Regions from separate parts of the Homo sapiens genome. Here all the other regions are linked to region 1. Evidence: promoter capture Hi-C in 16 types of primary human blood cells and fetal thymus (Javierre and others, 2016). All regions are on one chromosome and are shown on one strand. The core of a region is centred on a gene start or on the middle of the fragment in contact, and the rest is flanking DNA. Distances in the headings are between cores, read along the strand shown. Region 1 holds the start of EPOR (erythropoietin receptor). Region 2 has its middle 16 kb from the start of TSPAN16. Region 3 overlaps PRKCSH (PRKCSH beta subunit of glucosidase II).

Region 1 (4,452 bases), core at 1,366-3,865:
ACGCTCCCTGCGCCGTTGCCGGCCGAGACGTCCACCTCGTAGCGGATGTGAGACGTCATGGGTGTCTCAGGCGGCGGGAGCCAGCGCAACACTACGTGGCCGCTCTCGTCAGCCAACCGCGCCACCAGCCCCACGGGGGCGTCTAGGAGCACTGCAGGCATGGGGGTTGGTCAGGTGGGCGAGGACTGAGACCCTCTCCTCCGACCACTCCTCCATTCCCAGAGCACTTACCTACTTCATTGATGTGGATGACACGGTGATATCGCGGAGCGCCGGAGGCTGCTGTGACGCGCAACTCTAGGGGCACGAAGCTCGACGTGTCGGCTGTAGGCAGCGAACACCAGAAGCGCACCGCACCACGAGCCGTGGGAGCCTGGTGCAGGCGACACAGCTTCCATGGCTCATCCCTATGCGCCCAGGGAAGGGAGCAGGTTGGGAGGGGGGACCGGGGAGTTGGCATTGCCCGGCCTGTGGGGGGCAGTGTGTATGTGTGACACAAGGTCTAGCCTTGTGTGTGTGTGTGACAAGGTGTTCCTTCGTCGCCCAGGCTGGAGTGCAGTGGCGCGATCATGGCTCACTGCAGCCTCAAATTCTGGGGCTTAAGGGATCCTCCCACCTCAGCTTCCCAAGTAGTTGAGACCACAGGCACGCGCCACGCCTGGCTTTTTTTTTTTTTTTTTTTGAGACGGAGTTTCGCTCTTGTTGCCCAGGCTGGAGTGCAATGGCGCTACCTCGGCTCACCGCAACCTCCGCCTCCCGGGTTCAAGCGATTCTCCTGCCTCAGCCTCCCGAGTAGCTGGGATCACAGGCATGCGCCACCACGCCCGGCTAATTTTGTATTTTTAGTAGAGATAGAGTTTCTCCATGTTGGCCAGGCTGGTCTCAAACTCCCGACCTCAGGTGATCCGCCCGCCTCAGCCTCCCAAAGTGCTGGGATTACAGGCGTGAGCCACCGCGCCCAGTCTAATTTTTTTTTAAGAGACGGGGATCTCGCTGTGTTGCCCAGGCTGGTCTTGAACTCCTGGGCTCAAGCGGTTCTTCCGCCTCGACCTTCCAAAGAGTTGGGATTACAGGCATGAGCCACTGCTGGCCTCCTTTTGGATACTACCTCGAGAAGGCGTCCCAGCCCCGACGTAGTAACGCCTTACCCTCGATTTGGAGGCGTTGTTATCCCAGCCTGATGTTTGGGGTCGCGTTCCAGCGGTGATCGCGGGAGTGTTCGCGCCCCGGCCCATAGAGGGCGTGCCAGCCCTGGACCCGCAGGTTTCCCTCCAGTGACCACGACTGGAGGCGCCGTCGGGCCTCAAACAGCAGGGGACATACGAGGCTACGACCTCCAGGGAGCTCTGCCCCACCCCCTCCCTCCGCCCTTGGAGGCACCCGCCGGATCGGACTCACTCGAGCTGGTAGGAGAAGCTGTAGTTGCCCGGGCCCACCCCAGCGCTCGCCGCTTCCTCCCAGAAACACACCAAGTCCTCCAACCGCTCGGTGAAGCACAGAAGCTCTTCGGGCCCCCGGGCCGCCAGCAAGGCCGCTGGGGAGGGGCGACAAAGGAAGGGCATGGGGGTCTGAGCTCTATCCTCGGGAGACAGCCCCCTCCTCTTCCCTCCCGCAGCCTGGGCGGACCCGATAAGAAAAAAGCCCCGCCCTGCCATCTTCCCAAGCGGGTCCCTTGGAGGGGTCCGCAGAGGTGGTGCCCCCCTAATTCCCAGGGGCAAGTTTCTCGCCTTACTGTCCCCCGCCGTCACCACTGGCGCACACCTGCCCACCCAGCGGCCAGCTGAGCTGGGCGCGGCGTTCAAGACCTCGAGCTCGGGACTGCCAGCCCCGCCCCAGCCTAGGACACGCGCGCGGCTGGGGGTGTGTGCGGAGAGGCGGGCCCCCTATCGGCCCCGGCAGGCTCCCCGCCAACCGATAGCGCCAACCGTGCCCCCCGCCTCCCTCCCTCCACCGGGCCGGGCAAGTGATCTGGCGCCCTCACACAAACCGTGTTTACAGTAGCCTGTGGCTTGGCCCCTCTAACTCGGACCCGGGCTTTACCCTCCCTCCCCTAGGGAGGGTCGGCTTGGTCCCCACCCCCCAGGGACCTTAGCACCAAGTCAGCCCCCTTAGGATTTAGCATGTCCCAGACTCCCTGAAAAGGTAAAACGGGAATGTTAAGCCCACTCTAGCTCTTGCCCGGGACGCGATCAGGAGTCTTGGATCCTAACATACCCCACCCCGCCCCCCACCCATCCAGGACCCAGTCTAAGGGTTCAGATGCCAGCTTGGCCCCCAGGACCCGGTCAGGAAGTCCAGAAACAGGCATGGCCCCCAGGACCTAGGCTGGGAGTTCAGGCCCCAGCATGGTCCTGCAGGCTCCAGCGTAGGGGTCCACACGCAGCTCATCCTTACCTTTGCTCTCGAACTTGGGGTCCGGGAGGTTAGGCGGGGGCGCCCAGGCGGCCCCAGCGAGCAGGAGACAAAGGGAGCCGACCTGGGGCCAGAGGGACGCCCCGAGGTGGTCCATGATACAGCCCCCGCCACGGGGAGCCCAGGGCTCCTGCCCCTCCGTCCCCCGCCCCCGGCACAGTCCACAGCTGGGTCAGCAGCTGCCTCCGCCGGACGCAGCTGACCAGGCCCTTCCCGACCAGGCGCCTCTAAGTGGCAGATCCCCGAGGGGGCGGGGCCAGCACTCAGCCTGGGTAGAGATAAGTGCCTGGCGGGAGGAGGCAGGGGCCCTTCCCGAGCCCAGAGGCCGCTTGGGGGCAGGGGAGGGAGTTGGGCCGCAACAGCTCCCGTTCTGGCTTCAGACACACGTTTTTTTTTTCTTTGTGGCCCTGGACAGGTGACTTACCTTACCTGAGCTTCAGACTTCTCATCTGTAAAATCTAGCCTGGCACATAGCGAACATTCCAAAAAATGTACCTACTGATTTTATCGCAGAAATCAGCATCTCTTCCCAGCCTGGAAATAAATAAAAATTATTTTCTCTCTCTCTCTCTCTCTCTCTCTCTCTCTCTCTCCTTTCCTTCCTTCCTTCCTTCCTTCCTTCCTTCCTTCCTTCCTTCCTTCCTTCCCTCCTTCCCTCCTTCCCCCTCTCTCTCTCTGTCTCAGGGTGTTGCTCTGTCACCCAGGCTGGAGTGCAGTGGCACAATCATAGCTCACTGCAGCCTCTGGACTGAAGCAATCTTCCCACTGCACCTGGCTAATTTTTAAAATTCTTTGTAGAGATGGGATCCCACTATGTTGTCCAGGCTGGTCTTGAAATCCCGGACTTAAGCAATCCTCCAGCCTCCATCTCCCAATGTGCTGGGAATACCAGCACGAGCCACTGAAGCCGGCCAATAATAATCCTTGCAACGACCAGCAGTTGAGTGTTTGCACAGTGCTAGGCCATGCTCCTGGGCAGTATGCATAATATGTGAGATTTTCATTTACGAATTTTTGGGAAAAAAATTTTTACCACCCACATTTTTATTCTCTTGGGCTGGGCCCGGTGGCTCACGCCTATAATCCCAGCACTTTGGGAGGCCGACGTGGGCAAATCACTTGAGGTCAGGAGTTTGAGACCAGCCTGGCCAACATGGTGAAATCCCATCTCTACTAAAAATACAAAAATTAGCCAGGTGTGGTGGCGTGTGCCTGTAATCCCAGCTACTCAGGAGGCTGAGGCATGAGAACTGCTTCAGTCTGGGAGATGAAGATTGCAGTGAGCCAAGATCATGCCACTGCAACTCCAGCCTGGGCAACAGAGTGAGACTGCATCTCAAAAAATAATAATAATTGGCTGGGCGCGGTGGCTCATACCTGTAATCCCAACACTTTGGGAGGCCGAGACAGGCGGATCATGAGGTCAGGAGTTCGAGACCAGCCTGGGCAACATGGCGAAACCACGTCTCTACTAAAAATACAAAAATTAGCCAGGCGTAGGCCGGGCGCGGTGGCTCACGCCTGTAATCCCAGCACTTTGGGAGGCCGAGGTGGGCAGATCACGAGGTCAAGAGATCAAGACCATCCTGGCCAACATGGTAAAACCCCATCTCTACCAAAAATACAAAAATTAGATGGGCGTGGTGCTGCATGCCTGTAATCCCAGCTACTTGGGAGGCTGCAGGAGAATCGCTTGAACCCAGGAGCCGGAGGTTTCAGTGAGCCGATATTGTGCCACTGCACTCCAGCCTGGTGACAGAGCGGGACTCCGTCTCAAAAAATATATATATATATTCGAGCGTGGTGGTGGGTGCCTGTAATCCCAGCTACTCAGGAGGCTGAGGCAGGAGAATTGCTTGAAACCAGAAGGCAGAGGTTGCAGTGAGCTGAGATCACACCATTGCACTCCAGGCTGTGCAACAAGATTGAAACTCTGTTTCAAAAAAATAAATAAATAGTCCATGCACAGTGGCTCATGCCTGTAATCCCAGCACTTTGGGAGGCCGAGGTGGGTGGATCACAAGGTCAGGAGATCGAGAC
Region 2 (4,452 bases), core at 1,135-3,634, 100 kb before region 1:
GAAGGAGACCGTGGGGAGAGGGAGAGGGAGAGGGAGAGCTCTTTTTAATTTTTTTTGTAGAGGCCAGAGTCTTGCTATGTTGCCCAGGCTGGTTTCAAACTCCTGGCCTCAAGTGATCCTCCTGCCTCAGCCTCCTACAGTGCTGGGATTACAGGTGTGAGCCACTGCACCCAGCTGGCTATGTGGTTTCTTGTGCATCACTCTATCCCTAGTGCGCTGCACACAGCCTGGCACACAGTAGGTGCTCAGTAAGTGCTTTCTGAGTGAATGATTGGGAGAAGCAGAAAGTATTCCAAGGGAGGCATGGGCAATTGTTTTTTTGTGTTTTTTTGAGATGGAGTTTTGCTCTTGTTGCCCAGGGTGGAGTGCAATGGCACGATCTCTGCTCACTGCAACCTCCGCCTCCTGGGTTCAAGCAATTCTCCTGGGTTCAAGCGATTCTCCTGCATTCAAGTGATTCTCCTGCCTCAGCCTCCTGAGTAGCTGGAATTACAGGCATGCGCCACCACACTTGGATAATTTTGTATTTTAGTAGAGACGGGGTTTCTCCCTGTTGGTCAGGCTGGTCTCAAACTCCCGACCTCAGGTGATCCACATGCCTCGGCCTCCTAAAGTGCTGGGATTACAGGCGTGAGCCTCCGTGCCCAGCCAGGCAATTTTGTTAATCGCTGAATCTTCCAGTTTCCACATGCCTCCTCCTCTCTCCAACCCTTCTCGCCCTAACTTTTCCAGATTGTGCATGAAATTTCTAGATTGTGCATGAATGCCCTGCCCAGCCCTGCACATTCAGAATTCATTTGAATTGAACCTGAGAGGTGGAGGTTGTACCGAGCTGAGATGGTGCTACTGCACTCCAGCCTGGGCGACAGACCGAGACTCTGTCTCAAAAACAAACAAACAAGCAAAAACCACAAAAAACCTGTACATGAGCTGGGCAAGGCTGAGTGTGGTGGCTCACACCTGTGATCCCAGTGCCTCCAGAGGGTGAGGCGGGAGGAATGGCTTGAGGTCAGGAGTTTGAGACCAGCCTGGGCAACATAGTGAGACCCTGTCTATAAAAAAAATAAAGAATTAGCCAGGTGTAGTGGCGCATATCTGTGGTCCCTGCTACTTGGGAGGCTGACAAGGGAGGTTCGCTTGAGCCCAGGAATTTGAGGCTGCAGTGAGCTATGATTGTGCCACTGCCCTCCAGCCTGGGTGACAGAGTAAAAGACAATAGCAACAAAAACGCTGAATGAAATACAGCAAACATGCTTTTAAGTTATCAGCTAAGTTCACAAAAAAGTAAGAGAAATCTCCAAGGAACACAGAGGAGGGGAAGTTAGTGCTGAGGCGCCACATTCCTTGACCCTGTGAGATAAAGGCTGCAGTGAGCCGTGTTCACACTGCTGCACTACAGCCTGGGCAACAGAACAAGGCTCTGTCTCAAAAAAAAAAAAAGAAAAAGAGAAAAAGAAACCTCGTCTCCAAAAAAAAAAAAAAAATTAAAAATCAGCCTGTAGTCCCAGCTATTCAGGAGGCTGCGGTGGGAGGATCGCCTAATCCCAGGAGCTCCATGTTGCAGTGAGCTGTGATCAGGCCACTGTACTCCAGCCTGGGTGATAGAACAAGACTCCATCCCCTCCCCTCAAAATAAAAATAAATTGAAAAAATAAAGAACAAATTAAAACAAGGTCATTAGGATGGACCCTAATCCAAATGACCACTATCCTTATAAAATGAGGAGGTATGGGCTGGGTGCAGTGGCTCGTGCCTGTAATCCCAGCACTTTGGGAAGCTGAGGCAGGTGGATCATTTGAAGTCAAGAGTTCAAGACCAGTCTGGCCAACGTAGTGAAACCCTGTATCTACCCAAAATACAAAAATTAGCTGGGTGTGGTGGCGCATGCCTGTAATCACAGCTATTTGGGAGGCTGAGGCATGAGAACTGCTTGAACCTGGGAGGTGGAGATTGCAGTGAGCTGAGATTGTGCCACTGCAGTCCAACCTGGGGGACAGAGGAAGACTCTGTCTCAAAAAAAGAAAAAAAAAAAGAAAAGATGAGGTGATATGGACACAGAGACAAGCATTAAAGAAAGACTATGTGAAGACACAGAAACAAGGCAACTGGCTCTAAGCCAAGGAGAGAGACCTCAGAAAGAATCAACCCTGCTGACACCTTATTCTTGGACATACACCCTCCGGAACTGTGAAATGCCCTGTTTTATAAGCTTCCCTGTCTGTGGTGCTTGGTCATGACAGCCTTAGCAAACTCATACACGTCCCCTCTTCCCAACTGCTGCTTCCTGGCATCACCACCTCTCAGACAAAGTACTTGTATTAAATCCTTGTTTCAGTGGTGGCTTCCACGGAACCCAAACTAAGACAAGGCCACCCCAGGGTACAAAAGGTGGCATGGGGAAAGAAGAGAGTCTCTGGGGAGCATTGTCATGCAGAGAAAGGAAAGGAGAGGTCTTCAAGGAAGTAGAGCCAGACCTCAGTTTCAGAAGCCATTGTATTTGCTCCCAGAACCCATGAGAAAAAACTTCTGCTGTGGTGGTGGTGGTGAATCCCACAATAGGAAGCTTCTCTGTGGTTTTGAGCCACAAAAGAAAGTTGTAGCCCATTGTTTCATGGCCACAAAGGAAATGGTTTCCAGTTGGGTGATGGTTCGCTTGGGTTGCTGGGAGGATCTGACCTCAACCTTCCTGCTGCACCCTGGGCAATGGTGCATCTTCTCTTCCGGCATCTTCTCTCTCCTGTTTTTCAAGTTTACTCTTTTTTTTTTTTTTTTTTTTTTTTTTTTGATACGGAGTCTCACTCTGTCACCCGGGCTGGAGTGCTGTGGCGCGATCCTGGCTCACTGCAAGCTCCGCCTCCTGGCTTCAAGCGATTCTCATGCCTCAGCCTCCCGAGTAGCTGGGATTACAGGCATGTGCCACCATGCTCAGTGGCTAATTTTTGTATTTTTAGTAGAGACGGGGTTTCACCATGTTGGCCAGGCTGGTCTCAAACTCCTGACCTCAAGTGATCCATCTACCTCGGCTTCCCAAAGTGCTGGAATTACAAGCGTAAGCCACCACACCTGGCCCAAGTTTACTCTTTCTAAAAAGAATTTATTTGGGGTTTGCTCTGTTGCCCAGGTTGGATGCAACCTGGTGGTATGATCATAGCTCACTGTAGCCTTGAAATCCTGGATTCAAGTGATCCTCCTGCCTCAGCCTCCTGAGTAGCTGGGACTACAGGTGTCCATCACCTGACCCAGTAATTAAAATTTTTTTTTGTAGAGATGGGGTCTTGCTATGTTGCCCACACTGGTCTTGAACTCCTGGCCTCAAACAATCCTATTGCCTCCAATACATCTGGCCCAGGTTTACTCTTTTTTTTTTTAGACAGTATGTTGCTCTTGTTGCCCAGGCTGGAGTGCAGTGGCACAATCTCGGCTCACAGCAACCTCTGCCTCCTGGGTTCAAGCGATTCTCGTGCCTCACCTCAGCCTCCTGAGTAGCTGGGATTACAGGTGCGTGCCACCACCCCCAGCTAATTTTTTTGTATTTTTAATAGAGACAAGGTTTCACCATGTTGGCCAGACTGGACTCAAACTCCTGACCTGAAGTGATCCACCCGCCTCGGCCTCCCAAAGTGCTGGAATTACAGGCATGAGGCACTGCCGCTCAGCCCCCAGGTTTACTCTTTTTTTTTTTTTTTTCTTTTTTTGAGACAGAGTTTCACTCTTGTTGCCCAGGCTGGAGTGCAATGGCATGATCTCGGCTCACTGCAACCTCTGCCTCCCGGTTTCAAGCGATTCTCCTGCCTCAGCCTCCCGAGTAGCTGGGATTACAGGCATGCACCACTATGCCCTACTAATTTTGTTTTTTTTTTTTTTAGTAGAGACGAGGTTTCTCCATCTTGGTCAGGCTGGTTGTAAACTCCCAACCTCAGGTAATCCGCCCACCTTGGCCTCCCAAAGTGCTGGGATTACAGGCATGAGCTGCCGCGCCCAGCCAGGTTTACTCTTAATTTAAGGTTGAGCCCCTGGGCTGCACACTCAGCCTTGTGGATGGATGACTGGCTTTGGGCCAAGGTTTGGCTTGCAGCTTCTCCTCACTCTCAGCCTAGAGGCAAAAACTTTTCTTTCTTTTTGTTAAAAACAGCTTTACTGAGATATAGTCTACACAGTATAGAATTCACCCCTCGAAAGTGTACAATTCAATGGTTTTTCCTATATTCAGAATTGTACAACCATCACCCAGCCTATTTTGGAACACTGTCTCATCTCCTCAAAAAGCAGCTCCACAGCCTTTAGCTATCATTCCCCTATCCCCTCGTCCCTGCCGCCTCACCCCTAAGCAACTACGAATCTACTAGTCTGGACTGTCACATGAGTGCAATCATACAACATCTGTCATTTCGTGTCTGGCTTATTTCACATAGCTTAAAGTTTGTAAGATTCATCTGCAGCCTGTGTGACTGT
Region 3 (4,452 bases), core at 1-2,500, 66 kb after region 1:
ACCACCGTGAGTGCCTGCAAGGCAGGGGAGCTGGGGCGGGGAGACCCAGGCCTGGCCCAGCCGAACCCTCTCGAGCACCCGTCTGCCCATCCCCAGGTGCGCCTCCTGTGCGGGAAAGAGACCATGGTGACCAGCACCACAGAGCCCAGTCGCTGCGAGTACCTCATGGAGCTGATGACGCCAGCCGCCTGCCCGGAGCCACCGCCTGAAGCACCCACCGAAGACGACCATGACGAGCTCTAGCTGGATGGGCGCAGAGGTGGGCGGGGAGGTGGAGTCTCGTCGGCCTGCCCCAGCAAGGGGAGGCGGCGGGCCCTGAGGAAGATGGACCCACATGGCCACTCTATCAACCTGTGTCCCCATGTTCCCTGCTTTTTTGTTTTGTTTTTTTGAGGTGGAGTCTCACTCTTTGGCCCAGGCTGGAGTGCAGTGATGCGACCTCAGCTGACTGCAACCTCTACCTCCCGGGTTCAAACAATTGTCTTGTCTCAGCCTCCCAAGTAGCTGGGATTACAGGTGTGCACCACCATGCCTGGCTAATTTTTAGTAGAGATGGGGTTTCACCATGTTGGCCTGGATGGTCTCGAACTCCTGACCTCAGATGATCCACCTGCCTTGGCCTCCCAAAGTGCTGGGATTACAGGCATGAGCCACCACACCCGGCCATCTCCTGCCTTTTTTTTTTTGGATGGAGTTTCACTCTTGTTGCCGAGGCTGGAATGTGGAATGCAATGGCGCGATCTCGGCTCACTGCAACCTCCACCTCCTGGGTGCAAGCAATTCTCCTGCCTCAGCCTCCTGAGTAATTGGGACTACAGGCGCCGCCACCACGCCTGGCTAATTTTTTTGTATTTTTAGTAGAGATGGGGTTTCCCTGTGTTAACCAGGTTGGTCTCGATCTCCTGACCTCGTGATCCGCCCTCCTCAGCCTCCCAAAGTGCTGGGATTACAGGCTTGAGCTACCATGTCTGGCCATCCCCTGCTTTTTAAAAAAAGATTTTTTTACTTTTGAAACTAAATAGGCCAGGCGTCGTGGCTCACATCTGTAATCCCAGCACTTTGGGAGGCTGAGGTGGGCGGATCACTTGAGGTCAGGAGGTTGAGACCAGCCTGACCAACATGGTGTAAAACCCCATCTCTACTAAAAATACAAAAAAATTAGCTGGGTGTGGTGGTAGGTGCCTGTAGTTCCAGCTGCTCAAGAGGCTGAAGCACAAGAATCACTTGAACCCAGGAGGTAGAGGTTGGAGTGAGCCAAGATCATGCTACTGCACTCTCCAGCCTGGGCTACAGAGTGAGACTCTCAAAAAAAAAAAATAATAATAATAAGAGAAAATAGACAAGGTCTCCAGGCTGGTCAACTCCTGGCCTCAAATGATCCTCCCACCTCAGCCTCCCAAGCAGCCGGGACTACAGGCAAACATCACCATGTCCAGCTGTCCCCAGCTTTCTAATCTGGTCTTTCTCTTGCCCCAGAACCTCAAGAAGGCATGAAGCCAGCCCCTGCAGTGCCGTCCACCCGCCCCTCTGGGCCTGCCTGTGGCTCTGTTGCCCTCCTCTGTGGCGGCAGGACCTTTGTGGGGCTTCGTGCCCTGCTCTGGGGCCCAGGCGGGGCTGGTCCACATTCCCAGGCCCCAACAGCCTTCAAAGATGGGTAAAGGAGCTTGCCCTCCCTGGGCCCCCCACCTTGGTGACTCGCCCCACCACCCCCAGCCCTGTCCCTGCCACCCCTCCTAGTGGGGACTAGTGAATGACTTGACCTGTGACCTCAATACAATAAATGTGATCCCCCACCCAAACTTGTCTGTGTCTGCCTCGCTTTGCTGGGGTGTGGACCGGGGTGTGGGCAGGGGTTGAGCGCAGGGGACGCAGCTTTCTGCAGATCCCACCCGGGCCTCCCCCACCATCTGGGGATCACTCCTGAAGATACCAGGTGGATGGACCCTGGACCATTTCTGTCTTGAGCATCCATCCGGGCCCGTGTCCCACCTTCCCTGGGTCTCATCTGTGCTCTGTGGAGGCCAAGGGTTCCCTCCCGGGGCCAAAGCCCCTGCTGCAGACAGACCCAGGCCCAGAGAAGGACGGGGGCCTGGGCGCTACTACACAGGCTGCTCCTGCGTGCTCCCCGCGCAGCGGTGCAGAGATCACCCAAGGCCTTAAGATTCTGAACTTTTATTTTCTGGCATGAAAAGTACAAATAATTAAACAATTCCATGTAAAAGTCTGTTACCGCGGCCAGGCCTGTGATCCCGGTAATAAATAGTCTAAACGCAACGCGAAGTGTTCTTGTTGGGTTTTTTTTTTTTTTTTGTCTTTTGTTTTGTCTTTTTTTTTTTTTTTTTTTTTACAGTTTTTTATCACCTCCAACATGGACTCTGTCGTGATTTGAAACCTTCCGAATAAATAACAGGATGAAGGGAGGGGTGGAGGGGCTGAGCCCCCTCCCCCCTGGCCTGGCCCCTGCCCCCCAGGGACGTGGAAGCCCCAAGTCCCCCTCGCCTGGGAGCCCCGGCCTGGCCCCCTGCGGGGAGGGGCTGGCCTCCAGGGAGGGGGCCTGGCTGGGCTGAGTTTTGTGTTTTAGAAAAAGAAGTCCCCTCCCAGTCTTGGGGGTGGCAGGGGCCTAGGCCTCGGTGGGGGGGGGGTGTGTGGGGAGGTGCCCCCTCTCTGGAGCCTGGCCCCCCCCAGGGTGGGGGACAAACCCAGCCCTTATTGCTCGGACGCCCTGCTGCAAGCTTCCCACGCGGACGTGCGTGTTCCCGAATGCAGAGGGCGGAGGGGAGAGAGCCCCAAGAGACAGCAGGGGAGAGGGGTCCCTGCCCTGCTGCAGGGGAGAGGAGAGAGGGCAGGGAGGACTTAAAACCACGAGAATAAATAGGTTCGTGTATCAAGAACAAGCTAGGGATTTCACCAGCTAAATAGGACTGAAAAAATTCTCAAGACAAGAGCAAAAAGAATCCCATTGGTGACCTGGACGTCGCTGGCCGTGGGGACTGTCCCGCAGAGCACACGCCCCCGCGTGCCACTCGGCTACCATTACTGTTATTAATAATTATTATTACTTTAATGATTCCACTTCCCCTTTTATAAATAAATTAGGCATAACCATGTCTCGGCAAAACTTAAAGAAACAAAGAGAACATTGTCGTTCCTTTAACTTGCAAACCGGATGAAGTAACAGAAATATACACGGATGTCCTTACAGGGCAACGAGGAGAATAAATAGTTAACATAGCAATAAGTTAAAACTACAAGAAGCTAAATTCAGCAAAAAAGTACAAGAAAGTTAACTGGTGCCAGTTTATGTCTTTTTTTTTTTTCCTTTTTTTTTTTTAAATCTCTTCTGTGTGTTTTCTTTTTTTGTTGCTTTTTTTTCCTCTTCTGTTTGTGTTTTTTTGTCGCTTTTTTGATTTTTTTCTTTTTTGTTCCTTGCAGCAGAAGCTCCACAGACGTTTAATAACAACACCGGGAGGGGTGGGGGAGAGAGAGCTGGACAGTCAGATGGGGGCGCCATAGCCAGACACCAAACGTGGGGACACCGGGGGAAGGCAACTTAACTATAGCTAAAGTCGGGGGTTTTGCAATTCTCAGTTCCGATGGGGCCGCTGAGTGGGGTGGGGAGCGGTGCGAGGGCTCCCAGGGGCTCCGGCCTGTGGCTTCTGTTGGAATTTTTTTTTTTTAAAGAAAGAAAACTAGGGCGATGCAATGTCCAGACAGAAGCCGGGGGCCGGGGCTCGAGATCGGGGGCTGTGTCCACTGCAATCTGGAAAGACGAAAAACCCAACAAACCGAAAGGGGATAGGTAGGTGACAAGTGGACGGGAAAGGAGTGTGGGGCTGGGCCTTTGGGCCCATCCACCCCACCCTGGGCCTGGCGGGGAGTGCCGGGGTCTTGCTGCCGGGGAGGCCCAGTCCTGGTGGGGGAGGCTCAGGGCTGGGCCTCTCCCTCAGCTGTGTGGGCCAAGGCCTCGGCCCAGGGGGAGGCTGAGCCCCGGGGACAGGGGTGTCCTTTGGCCTCAAGTGTTGTGGGGGGGGGGGCTGCCTCCAGCCCACCGTGACGCCAAGGTGGAACGAGGTATCGTGTGTCTCAATGCATGTGCGCTGCGTGTGCACGCCTGTGTTCGTGGGCGCCAAGGAGACCGCTGGGGGTCCAGGAGAGATCTCTGCAGAGAACCTGGGGGCCAGGGCGAGGGGGCCGAGAGGGTGAGGGAGCGTCTGGGGCAGGGTCTGGGGTGGGACCTCCTGCCTGGGCCTGTGGGATGCTATGGGCATATGTCTGCGTGTTCCTGGGTGGTGTTTGTGTTTCTCCGTGACCTGGTGTCCAAATTTGATGTCCAAATATCTATCGCTACATTCACGTGTGCACGTGGACAGGTGGATGGATTCGTGTGCCCACATCTGTGGTCTGTGTCCACATGGACGTAGCCCCAGCTTCTGTCTCTTTCTGTCTATCCCT

Evidence for each region. The method cuts DNA at HindIII sites, captures the fragments that hold promoters and counts their contacts. A CHiCAGO score of 5 or more calls a contact.
Region 2: a contact is called between a fragment that was not itself captured here and the fragment with the promoter of EPOR in region 1, in 5 of 17 cell types (neutrophils, megakaryocytes, monocytes and 2 more). The highest score is 9.1, in neutrophils.
Region 3: a contact is called between a fragment that was not itself captured here and the fragment with the promoter of EPOR in region 1, in 1 of 17 cell types (megakaryocytes). The highest score is 6.6, in megakaryocytes.

The regions. Positions count from the first base shown.
Region 1 is chr19:11,381,699-11,386,150 of GRCh38, forward strand. EPOR (erythropoietin receptor) reads right to left here and starts at 2,616. Exons shown (of 8, transcript NM_000121.4): 1 at 2,395-2,616; 2 at 1,399-1,534; 3 at 232-407; 4 at 1-151. The coding sequence starts at 2,509. RefSeq lists enhancers at 1-256, 243-302, 313-402 and a silencer at 1,856-1,915. The HindIII fragment of the contact is 13,821 bases long and covers 1-4,452 here.
Region 2 is chr19:11,277,496-11,281,947 of GRCh38, forward strand. No RefSeq gene overlaps it. Among named protein-coding and RNA genes, the nearest start is that of TSPAN16, 16 kb to the right of the region's middle. The HindIII fragment of the contact is 354 bases long and covers 2,208-2,561 here.
Region 3 is chr19:11,449,170-11,453,621 of GRCh38, forward strand. PRKCSH (PRKCSH beta subunit of glucosidase II) reads left to right here. Exons shown (of 18, transcript NM_001289104.2): 16 at 1-6; 17 at 97-259; 18 at 1,477-1,799. The coding sequence ends at 243. It overlaps ELAVL3 (ELAV like RNA binding protein 3), which reads right to left. Exons shown (of 7, transcript NM_001420.4): 7 at 2,157-4,452. Among named protein-coding and RNA genes, the nearest start is that of PRKCSH, 16 kb to the left of the region's middle. RefSeq lists enhancers at 2,943-2,992, 3,023-3,142, 3,067-3,837. The HindIII fragment of the contact is 2,960 bases long and covers 1-2,730 here.